Regions from separate parts of the Homo sapiens genome. Here regions 2, 3 and 4 are each linked to region 1. Evidence: promoter capture Hi-C in 16 types of primary human blood cells and fetal thymus (Javierre and others, 2016). All regions are on one chromosome and are shown on one strand. Each heading gives the region's core, a stretch centred on a gene start or on the middle of the fragment in contact. The rest is flanking DNA. Distances are from core to core; before and after follow the strand shown.

Region 1 (2,996 bases), core at 183-2,682:
GGGAGGAACACAGGAGAGGGGATGCTGGGAGGGCTTGGAATCCCAAATCTGGTCTCTGTCCTCCCAGGTTGGGCACGTAGCCAGGTATTGGAGGAGGCGGGGCTACCAGAGAAAGGGCTTAAAATTACGGAGTTGGGATTCATGGAGGTGTGGCCTTAAGGTGTCTAGGGTCAGCATGAGATGACAAGGAGTGCAGCCTCAGGCAGGGCTGAGAGTCTGTGAAAGTCCCTCCCCACAAGGGGGAGCCCCACTCTCCAGGCCCTGTCTCCAGCCCACGCTGCCAGTGCAGTCCTTGAAGGGGGACTGGGCTCGTGAGACAGGAGTTGGGAGCCAGAGCTGAAGGAAGAGGATACAGGGTGGGGGACAGGGGGAGGTGACCGGGGAGAGAGGTCCACCCAGAGGCTAGAGACAGATAATGACTGACGGCTAGACTGACTCAGGGACTGTCCGGCAGAGAAATGACTGGATGAGAGACAGAAACAGAACAGTGGCAAGAGACAGAATGAGAGAGACCAGGGCAGCAGCCTGGGTGTCTGAAGGCAGAGAGGAGTCCTAGGGGCCAGGCTTGGAAACGGGTCACCGGGGGCAGTTCCGGGCAGGCAGGGGCAGACCTCAGCTTCGGGGGTGTCAAGCCAGGCCTCGGGAACTTAATTCTGGGAGAAGGAGCAGACAGGAGGGGTGGAGGCAGGGAGGGGCCACGGGAAGGGAGCTAGAGAGGAGACCCTTCCCACTGCTCTCCTTTCTCCTAGGGGCGGGGGGGAGGACCCCTCAGGTAGCTGTGGCTTCTGCCCCTCCTCCCTCAGAGCAGACACACACCTGACAGTCCCTTTGCTCCCGAGGGAAGGGGGAAACCGGAGGAAGGCTGGGGACCAGAGAGAAGGCGGGATGAGGAGGCGAGAAGGAAGGGGATAGAGGAGTGGGAAACAGGATAGCAGGAAGGGGAGAGGAGAGGGAGGGAAAGGAGAGCAAGAAAGAGAAAAGAGAAAGGCAGGAAAGGGGAGAAAGGTAGAGAAAGAAAAAGGCAAAGAGGGAGAGGAGATGGAAAAAGGACAAGAGGGAGAGGGAAGGGTTGGGGAGACAGAGGGAAGGGATAAGGAAGGCAAACAGGCAGAGAAGGAAGGGTGAAGAGAAATCGAGAGAAGAAAGAGGGAGAGAGGTGCGAGGGGAGAAGGGAAAGAGGCAGAGCGCGGGAGAAGGGAGCCGGCAGCGGGCTCCCAGCCACGGAGCGCACCCCTCCGAAGACCCCCGCAGGCTGCGGGCCCCCTCCTACCCCTCCGCGGATTCCCGACCCCTGCTCCGGGGCAGGCGCCCTTACCTGGCACTGCCGAGGGGCCCAGGCCGGCGGGAAGCGCCCCCGCCCGCCCCCGTCGCCGGGTCCCGGGGGCACAGCCCCGAGCCGATTGGAGCGGGCGCCGCGGCTCCGCTGCAGGTCTGAGCGGCCCCGGCGAGAACAAGGGAGCGAGACGGAGGGGGCGGGGGAAGAAGACTCCGCCTGCGGAGGAGCGAGGCGGCTCCGCGCCGCGCGGGAGAGGAGAGCCCAGCCTCCGACCCTCCCCGGCCAGCCGGGCCCGCGCGGCGGGGGCGGGGGCGGAGGCGGCGCCGCGCGTCCGCCCCCTCGGCGCTCCTGGGCTGCGGGGCGCATACAGATGCGGCGCCCCTCCCGGACCGGGCCCGCAGCGCCCGGCAGGGCACTCGGGCGGGAGGACGTCCAGGCCACGGCGCCAGGCCATTTCCGAAGAGCTGGCGGGGCGGGTGCACCCGGGAGCGCGAAGCTGCCAGTCCCCGCCCGCAGCGGAAAACGGGCGAGCGCGCGGTGAGGTGGGGAATTCGGAGCCCACTGCGGAGAGACCCGGCTCCGGGCTCCCGGTTCCCGGCTGGCTTTTGGGACTGGTGTGGATGGAATCCCAGCTGCAAGGCGGCGGCGTTTTGAGAGCCCATGCAAAGCACGGTAGCAGGTCAGCTGGGGGACACTTAAGGACGGCAGAAGGGTCCAGAGAGTCCGAGGCCCGGGCCCAGGGAGCGGGTCGGGAACAGAGGCACGACATCGGCGGGAGGTCGGAGGCGGGCAGTGGAACCCTTCTTGGGAAGCTCGGTTACAGGGGCCAACAGAGCGAGGAGCTGCCGCCCCCTGGTGGTAGTTGTGGGAGGCACCAAGGTGGCAGGCAGGTGACCAAACCCCTAATTTAACCGTGCACAGGACCAGGAACCAGAAGAGGACCCACCCTCCTAGCCCTGCTGGGGTGCCGCCACGGACACAGGTTGCTCCATGCCTTCCCGAATGAGGAAGGTCCACAGCTTTGGGTTGGTCAGGGCCAAGGCAGGGGATAAAAGACGTGGGAAGTTCAATAAGCAGGAAGCAGTCAGCCTAAAGGAACACATGGAATGAGAGCAACTCCTACTCCAGATATCCTCAGATGTCCACGCTCAGATATCCACAGTGGCTTCTTAACCTGCCCAAAGAAAGCCACTCACACAGTTTAAAACTAAGTCAGATTTTTATTTTTTTTTCCATAGACCACATCATTTAATAATAAAAAAAATAAAAATAAAAATTGAACAAAAGGAAAAGGTGGATATAAAGTGGAACCTGTGGGAAAGAGGCAAGGGCTGCAGGACAGAAGAGACTGGGAACTGCAGGGGCCCTGGGACTCAGGAGGAGATGCTGATTCAGCTCATAGGTGACCCAGTCCTGGCCCCGGCTGTTCCCAAGAGAAGGCTGTAAGTACCCAGGGAGGTGGTAAGCAGGATGGAGGAAAAATCAGAGGACTGGGGCACCTGGCTGTTCCCCATCTCTGGCCAACCACCTCCTTGCCTAACCTAGCTCTTGCCTCTCAGACTTAATGGGAAATGAGAGGGAGGGTCGGGCTAAGTCCCAAGAGATAGGTTAAGGGGGTGTGTTTGGGGGGAAAAGGATGGCCACTTTTCCATTTGGTATGTATGTAGGGATAGGTGATGTGAAAGACCCTTGGCTCCAGGGTGGTGGAGACTGTGCCTAT
Region 2 (3,018 bases), core at 157-2,656, 170 kb before region 1:
GAGGAGGCTGGGAGAGGTGTGTATGGATTGGAGCTGCAGAGGCAAGTACTGAGGAGCTGAGTTTAGGGACCAGTTAATAGTGATACATACAGAGGATAATGAAAGGCCATCCTGAGGGGGGTGGCAGTGGGAAAGGAAGGAGGCATGGGTTTGAGCATCAGAATCAATGGGACTTGGCAACTTAGTGGATGAGTATAAAGAGAGGAAAAAGTTGTAGGTGGTGAGAGGATGGTGCAGAACTTGGAGTAAAGGGGCAGAGGAGGTAGTGAGAGTAAGGAGCTCCATTTTGGAGACACTGAATTTGAGATGCTAGAAGAACATCTATATAGAGTTTCAGCAGCTCTCTAGAGTTGAATCTGAATCTGAAATTCAGAACAAGTTGGGACAAGAGAAACAGATTTGAGAATAATTACCATAAAGATAGTAGTAGAAGAGCAAGGAGAAAAGGTGACCTGTGCAGTCACATAGGGCCCTAAGCTTAGTTTAATGTTCTGCTGTTATGTTCTTAAAATTCTTCGAACAAGGAGCCCTGTATTTTCATTTTGCAAGGGGATCCACAATTATACTAAGGGAGAAGGTGCAGTACAGGCTGGGATCCTTACCCCAGACTACTGATGGAGTCTGCGTCTTGTGAAATGGTACATACAATCTGATGTATTTGTGTAGTCATACCTGTGTCTGAGAATAGGGTTCATGAATTTCATCAGATTCACAAAAGGGTTTGTTACAGGCCAGGCACAGGATGGCTCATGCCTGTAATCCCAGCACTTTGAGAGGCCGAGGCGGGTAGATCACCTGAGGTCAGGAGTTCGAGACCAGCCTGGCCAACATGACGAAACCCCATCTCTACTAAAAATACAAAAATTAGCTGGGCATGGTGGCACATGCCTGTAATCCCAGCTACTTGGGAGGCTGAGGCAGGAGAATTGTTTGAACCCAGGAGGTGGAGGTTGCAGTGAGCCGAGATCGTGCCACTGTACTCCAGCCTGGGCAACAGAGTGAGATTCTGTCAAAAAAAAAAAAAAAAAAAAAAAAGATGGTACTGGCTGCTTCTGGAAAGGGGAACTGGGTGAGTAGAAGACCAGGATGGGAAGCTGACTTTTCATTGTATGCCCTTTTTCTTTTCTTTTCTTTTCTTTTTTGAGACGGAGTTTCACTCTTGTTGCCCAGGCTGGAGTGCAATGGCACGATCTCACTGTAACCTCCGCCTCCTGGGTTCAAGCGATTCTCCTGCCTCAGCCTCCCGAGTAGCTGGGATTACAGGCATGTGCCACCACACCCGGCCACTTTTGTATTTTTGGTAGAGATGGGGTTTCTCCATGTTGGTCAGGCTGGTCTCAAACTCCCAACCTCAGGTGATCCGCCTGCCTCAGCCTCCCAAAGTGCTGAGATTACAGGCCTGAGCCACCGCGTCCAGCCTGTATGCCCTTTTTCTACCTTTGGAAATTTTTTTTTTTTTTTTTGAGACAGAGTCTTGCTCTGTTGCCCAGGCTGGAGTGCAGTGTGGCACAATCTCAGCTCACTGCAAACTCCACCTCCTGGGTTCAAGCGATTCTCCTGCCTCAGTCTCCCGAGTAGCTGGGATTACAGGTGCCCACCACCACGCCCAGCTAATTTTTGTATTTTTAGTAGAGACGGGGGTTTCACCATCTTGGCCAGGCTAGTCTTGAACTCCTGACCTCATGATCCACCCACCTCAGCCTCCCAAAGTGCTGGGATTACAGGCGTGAGCCACCGCGCCTGGCCTACCTTTGGAACTTTTAACTGTGTCATTTAGTACCACTTCAAAAATGAAACGAAATAGGCCGGGCACAGTGGTTCACGCCTGTAATCCCAGCACTTTGGGAGGCCAAGGCCGGTGGATCATGAGGTCAGGAGTTCAAGACCAGCCTGGCCAAGATAGCGAAACCCCATCTCTACTAAAAACTACAAAAATTAATCAGGCGCAGGGGTGGGCACCTGTAATCCCAGCTATTCGGGAGGCTGAATCGCTTGAACCTGGGTGGCAGAGGTTGCAGTGAGCTGAGATCATGCCACTGCACTCCAGCCTGGCGACAGAGAGAGACTCCGTCTCAAAAAAAAAAAAAGAAAGAAACAAAATAATTTAAAACAAAGCCTTAGGGGTCCAGAGAAAGAAGAGGGAACAAGGAGATCCTGGGGATATATAGATGGAGAAGGTGGAGAAGCAGCTGCCAAAGAGGTAGTGGGAGAACTAGGATTGAGCCTGTTGTGACTGCTGCCAGAGGAGGGGTTTCTAGGAGAGTATCACCAATGGTCAGATGTGGCCAGAGAGGAGGATGAGGAACAAGAAAGGCCCAGTGCCTTTTACGTGGCAGAAGCTTAAAACATGTCTTTCGTGTATGGAAGACCATGATGGCAAGACCTCCCCCACGAGGGGAGCCACACACCATGAGCCTCCCTCCCCCAACTCAGCCAGTCCCATCAGCCCGACCCATCTGTGTGTTCCCTCCAGACGCCTACAGGGAATAGCTCAGAACAGACGGAAGCTGAAGCCAGGCTCCCGCCAGACTTGGGAGAGGTGAGGCCTTCTCTGAGAGCCAGGCCATTCTCTCTTTCTCTCTCAAGGCAAAGTAGAGCCATTGATCTTGGCTGGGGTGAGAGGTCAGCAGAGGGCACTGGGACCTGAGCTGCCATGCCAGGTAAGGTCCTTTCTGTCCTCATGCATCTCTTAACCACTGCAATTTTGTCTTGGAGTCCGTGTTCCCTTACCAGCCCCTGCCCAGCCCCTGCTACTCCCACTCCCCTTTGCCCACAAGACCGCCTCATTGGCCCAGAGCATAGACTTTGTGTGCTCTCCCCTGAGGGTCAGAGGAACGGGGGAGTCCTGCATCTGGAAATTTTTCCACTCTGGGCCTCTGCCTACAGATGAGCTTTTAGGCCGTGCTGCATCTGAGCCCTCTAGAGAGACTGGAACAGGGGCTCTTCTCTTCTGAAAGACTGCCGGGGTCATACGTGGAAGTCCTCTGGGTTAAACCCTCACTCCCAGGAAGTTCACAC
Region 3 (3,040 bases), core at 225-2,724, 140 kb before region 1:
GCTGGGATTACAGGCGTGAGCCACTGCACCCGGCCCAGGTTGGTAGTTTTCAAACGCTCTCTTCATGTCCCAACTTATGGGTCAAGGTCCACTCAATCTCATCCACATAGAGTATGTTTTCTTCCATCCTGCTCCAAAAACAGTATTAGAGACCCACAATCACGTCAGTTCCTAGACCTCGTCATAGCACAAGCCAACAGATAGACCCCACTGCTAAAGGAGCAGAGAGAACCACTGTCAGACCAATTCGGGAAGAATTCACGAAAAGCTGGAGCCCCAGGGGTGATGGTAGCGCCATCCCCAGGGTCTGATCACTTAGCTGGGCACAAACACCTACAAACTGAAGGCAGCTTAACAAAAGAGGAACAATGAGAACGATAAAAGCTACTTGAAGGACCACCCTCCCCATGTTGTGTAGCTTTAAAAAATGGTCCTATAGGCCGGGCGCGGTGGCTCACGCCTGTAATCCCAGCACTTTGGGAGGCCGAGGCGGGTGGATCACCTGAGGTCAGGAGTTCGAGGTCAGCCTGGCTAACATGGCAAAACCCCATCTCTATTAAAAATACAAAAATTAGCCGGGCGTTGTGGCAGGCGCCTGTAATCCCAGCTACTCGGGAGGCTGAGGCAGGGGAATCGCTAGAACCCGGGAGACAGGATGCAGTGAGCCGAGATCGCGCCACTCCACTCCAGCCTGGGTGACAAAGCGACACTCCGCCTTAAAAAAATAAAAAAAAAGAGGTCCTATAGGCAACCAACTGGCACAATCTCTGCGGGAGCCAGTGTCCCAGGGCTCAATCTTCATATGTGGCATCATAATACGCCTACTGGAATGAGTGCTTGAAAAAGTTAAATGGGAAAAGCCCATAAAGGTCAACATAGTGAACATGAATCTTCGACAGACTAGAGATTGAGGAAGAAAGCTCAATTCCCTTCTCTCTCTCTGAATGGTGGTGCGAGTGGCTGAAACTGATGATGCGTGTCCTCTCAGGCCGCGGAGGGTCGATGCTCCCTCTCCAGTGTGGGCGACCCTAAGTGTCACGGCTGCAGAGACCCGGAAAGAAAAATCACAGGATTCTAGAAACCGCATCTTTATCGGTGCAAGATACAGCCACGAGGGTGCCCAACTCTAAAATCGTGGCAGTGGGCTACATTTAAGTAGCTAACACTTCCAGGTCAAAACAAACAAAGGTTTTTTTAATGTTAAAAGTTCGCCTGAATCTCTTCGTGACGCCATTTTCTGCCCGTGACGTCAGGGGGGAGGCGCCGTGCAGCAACGTCACGCATTGGTGACGTCTGGTGGGGACCGGGTTTTGGGGTTTCTCACCAGTTCCGGGTCCCCGCAGGGGGGTCCCGGTTCTCTCCGTTCCTTTGAGTATGTTGTGGGGAGTGGAGCTCGGATAGTTCCTAGAGTCTAGGCAAGAAAAGCAGCACTGCAGGTACAGAGCCTCCTCTTCCCGCAAAATGGCGGCAGCTCTGCCGTCTTCCAGAACCTTCCCCAATCTGCGCATGCGCCAAGACTCCCCGGCTTTGGAAATAACCTCACTGGTTTCGCGGCAACCGTCCAAAGTACAGGTTCTCATTGGCTAAAGTCCTAAGTATGGGTGGAGCAAACTCAAATGCGTCTTAGCAACCACCGAGTTCCCATTGATTGGCTAACCTCAGAGACTCCAGAAAATGGAAGCGTCCTTTGGTAGCCGCCCATCACTCTCTCATTGGTTAAATGACTTGCGGAGGGCGGGGAAAACGGGACTGAAAACGGGAGTGAAGAAGCCACCAACCCCACTCCTGGTGCTCGCGTAGACTAGACCAGTGCGATGGGCGGAGCCAACGAGGAGGCACAATTTACATCCTTGGCCGTCCCTACTCGGATTTGCTGAAGGAGTCACGTCGGTCGTTAAGGTTAAGCTTTGTAGAGAACAGCGGCGTTTGTTTAACGTCCGGGGATGCTGAACTCGAAATCCCCGTTCTGAGCCGGCTACCTAAACAACCTTCCCGACCACCTCTCCTGACCTCGGTGCTTGGGACCAGGGAAAAGCAGATCTTGCCACAGACTTGTCTTGGCCCACACTCTGCCCTATCGTCATGGCCTGCTCCCACAGGTCATAACTTCCGTTCAAATCAGTACCCCCACATTTCCCACTGCAAGGGTAAATTTGAAAGTTTCTCAGGTGACTCCTTGGATGTAGCAGTACTGAGTCCTCTAACCGGAAAGAAGGAACTGATGTCCACCCTCACTTTCCAGGGGCCTCCAGGAGCCCCTAGACACTTCTGTGGTCTACTGTAGCTACCAAAAATGTAGCTGGTTATAACATGGGGAGAGCCAGAGTCGGAGGACCTGACTTCCAATTCTGACTTGGATACTAATATCACATCATTGTACCCATTTCAAACTCCCCCTCTGTAAAATGGAAAATTGGACTAGATGATCTCTTAGGACTTCAAACTGTAACCCTGTGGTTTTATTCAAAAAAAACAGGTAGCTTCTTGCTGGAGATTCCTGGATGGATTCCAGTCTTCCCAAGAGGTAACAAAGGAGAGGTAACCAGTTGCCCGTGCAGTAGCTCAAGAATACAGAAGAGAAACTGGCTTCACTCACTATTCCATCTTTTTCCAAGGTGGCAAACTCTATGCCTCCTCCCCAGAGAAAAGCCTAACTGTAGGTTCTAATGGACAAGAGCTCACTGTAGCTGGTCAGAAAGGCCTATATCCAGGACTACAATAGTCATTGCTCAGCTTCCTAAGTAGGGAATACAACTAGGCCCCTTTGGGTCTTGGATAGGCTAAGAGGACAGATCTGAACATGCCTGGGTCTAAGTGAGGTGTGGGAAAATAGTGGCAGGGGGCAGCATGGTCGTGCAGTAAAGGGCTATAACTTTATTTGTATTTCCTCTTACACAAAACCATCAAAACAAGAACAGAAAAAGGCTGAAAATCCGTTCAAACCCCATGTTCTCAGGGATATTCCAGGGAGTTCTTGAGGCTGAGTGCGTAGCTTCAAATCCAGCACTAATTCCTCACCCCCTGGCCTGAGGTCTTCATA
Region 4 (3,033 bases), core at 370-2,869, 130 kb after region 1:
ACTTTCAAAGGGAGCATTATTTATATTAAGTGCCTCTCTGTAGGTTGGAATCTTTTTGTGACATAAACTCTTAAGTGTGTCAAAATTCCAGGTGACTAACATTGAACACAAGAGAGAAAGAAAAGCCTTGGTGTAATATGTTGACAAAAATCTGTAAAAAATTACAAACTAATGTTTATTAAATTTTGAGCATTTTTTTTTTTTTTGAGAAGGAGTCTCGCTCTGCTGCTCTGGCCGGACTGCAGTGGTGCGATCTCGGCTCTCGGCTCACTGCAACCTCTGGCTCCTAGGTTCAAGTGATTCTCCTGCCTCAGCCTCCTAAGTAGCTGGGATTACAGGCACCTGCCACCATGCCTGGCTAATTTTTGTGTTTTTAGTAGAGACGGGGTTTCACCCTGTTGGTTAGGCTCGTCTTGAACTCCTAACCTTGTGATCCACCCGCCTCGGCCTCCCAAAGTGCTGGGATTACTCTATTCTGCATTTGCCTTTATATTTTTATTCTATTCTCTACGTTTAAATAGTGCTTTATAGCCCACAAATGGTTTTCTGAACAATATCTCAATTTTTTTCCTCCTCATGTAGTATCTTGGGCAGACGAGGCAGTTATCTTAAAGATTTTAAAAATTAGAAACCTGAGGCTTAAAGAAATATTTTACCTGAGGTAAAAAACAAGACAGTCTATTTGAGGGCAAATGGGAGATTGATAGTTTACACTGAGCACTTTTTCAGGATGCTATAGCTACTGGTCAAAGCCTCAATTTCTTTCACCTGAGGGAAACTCTGTGTTTTTGCTTTGGTGTCTTAACTGTGCCTTTTAGAGACTCACCTTGATCCTAACACTTATCTGCTCAGTGAGACCCACAGGACTTCACCTGGGCCCCCCCAACATTTGTCACCCCCTTCGCACAGTCCTCAGTGTGGCCATATCCCAAGTACGTAGTACAATTCTGTTTCCAATATCGGAGCCACTGTTTCAGCTGTTTTGCGTGCTTCAGATCAGAAGAAATTGATCCCTTTAACTAGGGAAAATTATGGATGAAAGGCCGTTTTCTTACAAATATGGATTTAGAAAGAGAAAGGCTGTGCGTAGCTGACACCTACTGGACAGAAAAGGTTATGGCTTGGGACATGCTGCTTGTGATAGTTAAAACACAAACACACACAACCCCCACGCAGTCATGTTCTAATATTCCCCTACTCCCCCCTTTTTTAGAGACAAGGTCTCACTCTGTCACCCAGGCTGGAGTGTAGTGGCACAATCACAGCTCACAGCAGCCTCAAACTCCTGGGCTCAAGTGATCCTCCCGCCTCAGCCTCCCGAGTAGCTGGGACTACAGATGTGCGCCACCACACCCGGGTTAATATTCCCTTTCAGAGACAAGTTAGACGTGTCTGCTAATGCAAAGGAATAGAGCACAAAGCTCATGCACTCCATTCCTGATTTTTTTTTCTAGATCCAATAGACAGCACTTTATTCTTGCTTTTTGTAACAGAGCTGGGAAGTCTGAGGTTACCAACAAAGGACCCAAATCTCTCCCTGGAGTCAACTCACAGTCCATGCGCTCACTCCATCCTTCTTCTCGTAACTATGTGCCCCATATCTATGTGCTTTAGTTTAAAGCAGAAGGAAACCCTGCTTTAAATTAAAGCCAACTTTCTTCCCAGAGTCCCAGGGATCACTGCCTATGGTCGATTAGATGGGGCCTTCCTGAGCCAGTAGTTTTAGATGCCTTTACTTCATTAGAAAATGAAAAGCAGATGAAAATTAATGAGAAAAGAAGAAAAAATTAAAAAAAGAAAAGGCCAAAATAGGTCAGAAAGAAAGGAAGATGAAATGAGGAGACTCGGTCAGTGATTAAGCCCTTTTTAGTGTATGCTCTGTTTGCCTTTTGGGCATATTCATAAGTTCAAAGGAAGTTGTGTCTTCTAGGGTTTATGCAGTCCTGAGAATTTGGATGCAGCTGACCCTGCTTTGTTATGATGGTTAATTAATTCAGCTCTTCTGGAGATAATGATGAATCCTTGCTCTGACACCAGAGACAAAAATTCCAACAGATTACTCCTCTGTCTGCTGCACTTGGTGGGATTCCATGGAGCCAGCCCAGCACTAGTGGGAAAGAAATAAAGAGGCACTGCCTGTGGCAGGCCAGATCTCCGCATTTTCTTGATTCTTTTGCTGGGTCCAATCTGTCATGGGGCCTTAACAGTCTTCTTTCTCAGGATTTAAGTGACTCCAGCTTTGAATACTTAAATATGGAAACTTCCCCTTCTTAATTGGTTTTCATTATGTTTGACAAAGATTAGGGTTTTTTTTTTTTTTTTTAGAGATAGGGTCTCACTCTCACTCTGTCACCCAGGTTGGAGTGCAGTGGTGTGATCACAGCTCACTGCAACCTTGAACTTCTGGGTTCAAGTGATCCTCCTGCCTCAGCCTCTCAAGTAGTTGGGACTACAGGTGCACACCACTATGCCTGGCAAATTTTTAAAAAATTTTTAGTAAAGATGAGGTCTTACTGCATTACCCAGGCTGATCTCAAAGTCCTAGCCTGAAGAGTTCCTCCAGCCTCAGCTTCCCAAAGTGCTGGGAGCCACTGTGTGAACCACTGTGCTGGGCCTCAGGTTTTTAAAGATGTAGATGACAAGTTCCCTGAGGGCAAAGACCTGCTTTGCTCACTGCTGTAACCCCAGTACCTAAAATGGTGCCTGGCACTCAATAAATATGATTGATTGAATGAATTAATGTATAAATAAATGTTGATGTACATTAATGCATAATAAATAAAATAATTACCAAATGACTCCTTGATATACCAACTAATTGTAGCAAGATGTAGCTGTTGGTGCCTGTACAGGGGCTGGAACACAGAGAAGAAAAAGACAATCAAGGTTTTGACTTTGAAGATTATTTTATACAGAGCACAGATCTCAAGCAGGCCCTTAACACTGCCAGCAATCCTACCACAATCTTGTAGTTAACTGACCTTTCCAATTACCTGCTCCTCTCTTCAAACCAATACCACACCCCAAATCTTC

The links. Contacts are between HindIII fragments. The CHiCAGO score rates a contact against its expected background, and 5 or more counts as called.
Region 2: a fragment that was not itself captured here is called in contact with the fragment with the promoter of CDH24 in region 1 in 1 of 17 cell types (neutrophils); the score reaches 5.7 in neutrophils.
Region 3: the fragment with the promoter of RBM23 here is called in contact with the fragment with the promoter of CDH24 in region 1 in 14 of 17 cell types (neutrophils, erythroblasts, total CD8 T cells and 11 more); the score reaches 11.1 in neutrophils.
Region 4: a fragment that was not itself captured here is called in contact with the fragment with the promoter of CDH24 in region 1 in 1 of 17 cell types (M0 macrophages); the score reaches 5.2 in M0 macrophages.

What each region holds. Positions count from the first base shown.
Region 1 is chr14:23,056,088-23,059,083 of GRCh38, forward strand. CDH24 (cadherin 24) reads right to left here and starts at 1,433. Exons shown (of 13, transcript NM_144985.4): 1 at 1,316-1,433. ACIN1 (apoptotic chromatin condensation inducer 1) reads right to left here. Exons shown (of 19, transcript NM_001386863.1): 19 at 2,477-2,996. It overlaps LOC105370705 (collagen alpha-2(I) chain-like), which reads left to right and starts at 1,573. Exons shown (of 2, transcript NR_169511.1): 1 at 1,573-1,955; 2 at 2,198-2,562. RefSeq lists silencers at 1,313-1,432, 1,513-1,662. The HindIII fragment of the contact is 16,339 bases long and covers 1-2,996 here.
Region 2 is chr14:22,890,193-22,893,210 of GRCh38, forward strand. RBM23 (RNA binding motif protein 23) reads right to left here. Exons shown (of 14, transcript NM_001077351.2): 14 at 3,012-3,018. Among named protein-coding and RNA genes, the nearest start is that of REM2, 8.5 kb to the left of the region's middle. The HindIII fragment of the contact is 1,862 bases long and covers 476-2,337 here.
Region 3 is chr14:22,917,675-22,920,714 of GRCh38, forward strand. It overlaps RBM23 (RNA binding motif protein 23), which reads right to left and starts at 1,475. Exons shown (of 14, transcript NM_001077351.2): 1 at 1,325-1,475. PRMT5-AS1 (PRMT5 antisense RNA 1) reads left to right here and starts at 1,782. Exons shown (of 2, transcript NR_120600.1): 1 at 1,782-3,040. PRMT5 (protein arginine methyltransferase 5) reads right to left here. Exons shown (of 17, transcript NM_006109.5): 17 at 2,855-3,040. RefSeq lists enhancers at 1-291, 780-949, 1,020-1,129, 1,220-1,289 and a silencer at 1,550-1,849. The HindIII fragment of the contact is 7,114 bases long and covers 1-1,903 here.
Region 4 is chr14:23,186,155-23,189,187 of GRCh38, forward strand. It overlaps a transcript of RNF212B not described here. Among named protein-coding and RNA genes, the nearest start is that of SLC7A8, 4.0 kb to the left of the region's middle. The HindIII fragment of the contact is 4,312 bases long and covers 1-3,033 here.